2 separate regions of the Homo sapiens genome follow, and region 2 is linked to region 1. Evidence: promoter capture Hi-C in human tissues and cell types (Jung and others, 2019). All regions are on one chromosome and are shown on one strand. Each heading gives the region's core, a stretch centred on a gene start or on the middle of the fragment in contact. The rest is flanking DNA. Distances are from core to core; before and after follow the strand shown.

What was found. The method cuts DNA at HindIII sites, captures the fragments that hold promoters and counts their contacts. A contact is called where the count stands out against the background at its distance.
Region 2: a contact is called between a fragment that was not itself captured here and the fragment with the promoter of BTAF1 in region 1, in 1 of the 25 tissues and cell types used here (aorta).

Annotation. Positions count from the first base shown.
Region 1 is chr10:91,922,435-91,925,238 of GRCh38, forward strand. It overlaps BTAF1 (B-TFIID TATA-box binding protein associated factor 1), which reads left to right and starts at 1,336. Exons shown (of 38, transcript NM_003972.3): 1 at 1,336-1,656. The coding sequence starts at 1,643. RefSeq lists enhancers at 78-611, 959-1,068, 1,679-1,878 and a silencer at 1,319-1,618. The HindIII fragment of the contact is 3,578 bases long and covers 105-2,804 here.
Region 2 is chr10:93,250,884-93,254,143 of GRCh38, forward strand. No RefSeq gene overlaps it. Among named protein-coding and RNA genes, the nearest start is that of CYP26A1, 180 kb to the left of the region's middle. The HindIII fragment of the contact is 7,279 bases long and covers 1-3,260 here.

The DNA.
Region 1 (2,804 bases), core at 86-2,585:
GTCTACGAAGATTAAAACTAACTTTTCAAGGCTTCCCTACAAATTATATGGATAATGCATGTCATGTGCCCAGCACACAGCAGGTACTTGTTAGTTTCTTTCTCTTTACATACATATATACTACTTTATGGTTTACAAAGTTCTTGTAAGCTCTTCTAGATTCATGACCTCATTTTATTCCCACAATCTTCTGCAGTACTTCTCATTAGCCTCATTTTACAGATGAAAAACAGACTCAAGGATTGAGACATAGCCTCTTCAGGTAATGAGAAGCCAATGGACATGCTTTATAAGCATAGGAGCGACATGATAAAAAGCAGTGAGGTTTTTTGAAGATTAATCTGTTGGCCTATAAAATGGGCTGAACTGAAAATTGGAGAAATATTATTTTGACTACTAGCATAAAAATCAAGTTTAAGGGCCGGGCGCAGTGGCTCACACCTGTAATCCCAGCACTTTGGGAGGCCGAGGCGGGCAGATCACTTGAGGCCAGGAGCAGGAGACAAGCCTGGCCTACATGGCGAAACCCCGTCTCTACTAAAAAATACAAAAAATTGGCCCGGCGTGGGGCTCGTGTGCCTCCCAGCTACTCGGGAGGTTGAGGCACATTTAGAATCGCTTGAACCCGGTAAGCGCAGGTTGGCAGTGAGCCGAGATCGCGCCACTGCACTCCAGCCTGGGCGACAGAGCGAAACTCGGTCAAAAAAAAAAAATCAAGTGTAAGATGATAAGGGCCTGGCAGAAGTGTTTAAAAGCCTAATGAACTTAAAAATATTGAAAAGCCAGATAAGTCCCCCAAAGGAACAAAAATTTAAAAATGGTAGTTTTCAAATCTGGCTGGCTGAGAAAATGATGGTACAAACAACATAAACAATTGAGAAATCAAACTTGGCAAAATCGTTGGTCAGAAGACCTTCTCTCCAATACCTAGGCAGAACTTCTGGCAAATAATGACAAACATCTGAGCCATTTCTTCAGTGTCATAGCGACTTTTTGCTTTCACTCCTCCCACTGGCTTCACCACCTGGACAAGAGCATGTTAAGGTCCTTCTGATCTTGCTTCCTAGATGCAGTACGGTGGGAAGCAGAATCTGGGTAGTGTGGAATTAGAAACCAAGCTTTCGAAGTTCCAGGACTTGGACTAAATCGCCTTTTTCCTTCTCTGTCAAATAAGGGGACCCTTACTTCACCTCCTTCCCTAGTTTTAAGACTAGACACCCTCTCCACATCAGCACAAAGCGCTTTTATTTAGGCGCGTGCCGCCAAACCAAAGGCGCTCGCGCCGAGCTAAGCTCCTGTCGGTGAGCTTACGTCACTTCCGGCGCGCTGACGCTCAGTTGTGCGTGCCGACGCCCGCGTCAGCAAAGAGCGGAGCTGAGGGTACCCGGTTTGAAGTCGTGCGGGTCGGAGGACTGCCGCCTCCGCTACCGTCTTGGACCCCTGCTTACCGGCCGCCGCGGGGACGAGCTCGGGTAGGCGGCAGGGCAGATGCCCGAGGGCCTGCGCTGGAACGCCCCACGCCGCACCGGCCGCTCCCCTGTGCTCCGCGGCCTGGGCCTGCGCCGCTCAGCTCTCTGGAAACTAGCGCCTCAGCTGCGCGGCGCGTAGGTCGCGGGGAGCTCCGAACCGCCGGCGCCCGGCCATGGCGGTCTCCAGGTGGGTCTTGCTCCTGACGAGCAAACTGGAAGGCGATTCAGGGAAGGCATGGTCTCCTCTTAGAGCCCCCACTCCTAGAGAAGAGCGGTTCTCATTGTCACTGGGCTCTGGAGCTTTCTTCAGTAGACTTCGGAGTTCGCCCCGTGGTCGGCGGGGGTTTGGGCTCGGGTTACTCCTGGGTAAATCGGTTCAATAATGCCTTTTTCTTGTTAATAGACCCCTTGGCACGTTAGAGCTGTTTTTTCTCTTTCCTCACCATGTTTCTGTTCTCTGGTTTCTCTTCCCTCTTTCGATTCTAGGGGAGTCTCTTATCTTTCTCAGTATTCTAAGGCTGGTCCCTAACCTCCATTTCATGGGAAAACTTGGTAGTTACTGTCGATGGAGGGGAAACCTGAATTACTATTATCTAAGAGACCGTCTAATTATGTTACCAGTTTTAATTTACGTTTTTAGGGGTATGTTCTTTCCTGAGATGTTTTTTAAAATTAAGTATAATTTCTCCTTTTGTTTGGCAGTAAACATTCCAACGTCAGCGTTGTAACCTTAAGCCAATTATCGTATTAGCATCATTTTCCGTAACTAAGGCGTGGAAGATAAATCACAGATCTTATATTCTTTTGAAATATTGCCTGTCAACAGGAAAGCCCAGGAAAACTATAGAAAAACTAACGACATTTATTTGTATAGCTATAGGAGAAACATTACTTTTTCCTCCGGTATGATAGAATGGTTGGAAAGCTTTTGTAAGCGGAATTTGGTGACCCTCTGTACATGTAATTAAGGGATAGTTCCTCTGTGATAGTGATCGGATGGATTCACCAAGTTCCTTAGAGTTGATATGGTAACTTTTAATGAGAATTGGATTCTTTTACCATATAGACTGAAGGAATAAATGATGAAAACAAATAGTTTTCATTTTTTTATAATTAACTGAACACATTCTTTGAGCGTATTAAGTGCACAAGTTTTATCTGTTTTGCAAGGGAAAGGATAACCCATTCCTTACAGACTCCCTAGATGACTGATGAAATAGTGTGTGGGAGAAGCCCATGGGAGTTGGGTGAAGGGGGTTGCTAGGTACCGTAGTATGGGGCATCTGATTTTTATTTTATAATCTATTCAATGTGAGGAAATTTTTTTTTAAATAA
Region 2 (3,260 bases), core at 756-3,255, 1.3 Mb after region 1:
CTTGCAAAATTGAAACTCTGTACCCATTAAACAATAACTCCCCATTCTCCCTACCTTCTAGCCCCTGGGAACCACCATTGTACTTCCTGTCTCTATGAATTTGACTACTCTGGACACCTCATTTCAGTGGAATTATGCAGTCTTTATCCTTTTGCGACTGGCCTACTTCACTTGGCATCTCGTCCTCAAGGTTCATGAATGTTGTAGCATGTGTTGGAATTTTCTTCCTTTTTAAGGATGAGTAATATTCCATTGTATGCATATACCACATTTTGTTTACCCATTTATCCCTTGACAGATACTTGTGTTGCTTCCACCTTTTGGCTATTGCAAATGATGAGCCAAATAATGTTTTAAAATACATAAAATTACATATGTGTATATATAGTATATATTATATAAATGTATATTTACAGAAATTATATGCGATGTAATTACAAAGGAAAATATTTATATTGATATACAGTTATCTATCTATTGATCTATAATCTATCTATATTTTTTGAGACAGGGTCTCACTCTGTCACCCAGCAAGAGTGCAATGGCACAGTCATGGCTTATGGCAGCCTTGAACTCCTGGGCTCAAGTGATCCTCTCACCTCAGGCTCCCGAGTAGTTGGGACTACAGGCACACACCACCATGCCTGGCTAATTTTTATATTTTTTGTGGAGATGGGGGTCTCACTTTGTTGCCCAGGTTGGTCTCAAACTCCCGGCCTCAAGCAAACCTCCAGTCTCAGCCTCCCAAAGTGTTGGGATTACAGGCACGAGCCACCACTTCTGACTTTCAATATGTTTTTTAAAAATTGGCCAGGTGCAGTGGCTTACACTGGGAGACCGAGGTGGGTGGATCACTTGAGGTCAGGAGTTCAAGACCAGCCTGGCCAACATGGTGAAACCCCGTCTCTACTAAAAATACAGAAATTAGCCTGGCGTGGTGGTGGGCACCTGTAATCCAAGGAAGCTGAGGCAGGAGAATCACTTGAACCTGGGAGGAGGTGGCTACAGTGAGCCGAGATTGCACCACTGCACTCCAGCCTGGGTGACAGAGTGAGACTCCGTCTCAAAAAAAAAAAAAAAAAAATTGATTATGATATAGAAAAATGTCAGCTCCTTTACTAAGGCAGATAATAAAATCCAGCACAGGCTTAATAACTACCCTAACTTGGAAAAAGCAATGAATGTAAGTGATATTTTGAGATATGCTATGAAAATATCAGTGATTTCCATTGCTAACAAAGTCCCAGGTATGGCTAACATTCCTGTGGTTTGTTGCCTACATTCATAATAGAAGAAAATGCTAAATTTCAGTTGGAGATTTGTGAAAATACAGATGATTATTTCTCATATAAGTCCAGGATCCCCTGGAATTCTCTTCCCAGGCCCTGGGAAATTCCAGCCATTACGAGCACACAGCTTTAGCGCTTGAGGAAAGCCTTCTTTATAACCCTCCAGGCCTAAAGTGAGGGCTCTAAATTCAAACTTTTTGGTTTGGGGTGATCTGTTCCTGGCTTGGCCCAGCTGTGTGAACTTGCCTCTCTGAGCCTCTGTTTCCTCATCTATGGTTGGACACCAATACCTGCCCCTTAGAAGTTATGGCGTCCTGTGACTAATGAGCCTCCTTTAAAAAGATGAATAGACCGGGCGTGATGGCTCATGCCTGCAATCCCAGCACTTTGGGAGACCAAGGCAGGCAGATCACTTGAGGTCAGGAACTTGAGACCAGCCTGACCCACATGGTGAAACCCTGTCTCTCCTACAAATACAAAAATTAGCTGGGCATGGTGGCAGGTGCCTGTAATCCCAGCTACTTGGGAGGCTGAGGCAGGAGAATCGCTTGAACCTGGGAGAAGGCGGTTGCAGCGAGCTGAGATCACGCCATTGCACGCCAGCCTGGGTGACAGAGCGAGATTCCATCTCAAAAAAAAAAAAAAAAAAAAAAAGAAAGAAAGAAAGGATAAAACCAGGCAAGCATTTTGGCCCAGGTTTATCTAAATCTCAAAAATCCCCTTCTCTATCCATGATGGATGGCAAGATAGAAAGCTTTTTACATCCATGTTTTCCAGAACCTCATTTTCTTCCTTCCATTCAGGGTAAACAACACAACTAAGCCAGACCCTGACTCTTCCTTCTATCTTAGTCTTTTGGGAGCCAAGATTGGCATCTTGTTTTCACAGACCCTAAGTTGTCTAAAACTTTTACATACCAGGGGGTGGTCTGGGATCCTATCAGGGGCCATAAAAGACCATAGGCAGCAAAGATAGGGGATCAGCAGGGATATGCTTAAACAATTCACTGGAAAAAGGAAGCCACAAAGGGAGGTTTACATGCAGGTGTCCAGGCATTCTAGTTATGTGCCTTAAGATAACCAAATCCGGGGTGAGGGGAGGGGGGAGGGATAGCTTTAGGAGATATACCTAATGCTAAATGACGAGTTAACGGGTGCAGCACACCAGCATGGCACATGTATACATATGTAACTAACCTGCACATTGTGCACATGTACCTTAAAACTTTAAGTATAATAATAATAAAATAAAAAAGAAAAACCCAATAATAGTTCTACAACATTAAAAATTATAGTCAAAATAATTTAAAAATACATAACTCATATTTTTGTAATCAGAAGAAATGTTTATTAAAAATACAAAAACATAAAAAAAACAAAAAAAGATAACCAAATCCCTGGCTGAAGATGGCAGACAGGAATGCACTAAATTTGCTGCCTGTTGAACAGGTTTAGTCTCTTCTGTTTTTTGTTGTTGTTGTTTTATTTTGAGATGGAGTCTCGCTCTGTCACCAGGCTGGAGTGCAATGGAGCAATCTCAGCTCACTGTAACCTCCGCCTCCGGGGTTCAAGTGATTCTCCTGCTTTAGCCCCCTGAGTAGTTGGGACTACAGGCACCTGCCACCACGCCCAGCTAATTTTCATATTTTTAGTAGAGACGGGGTTTCACCATGTTGGCCAGGATGGTCTCAATCTCTTGACCTCGTGATCCGCCCACCTCGGCCTAGTGCTGAGATTACAGGCATGAGCCACTGTGCCCGGCCTAGTCTCTTCTGTTTTAATACTGAACATTTCATACTGAAATCTTTTTTTAAACTATGAGATAGGATAATACTAACTAGCTCATAAGATAATACTAACTGGCTCATAAGATTGTGGATTGATTGAGATAATGCTTATGGAAGCTCTTGTCCAACCCGAGCTGAAGCTGCAACACCACTGGGAGGGGATTTGGGTGCTCTCCACCCCCTTA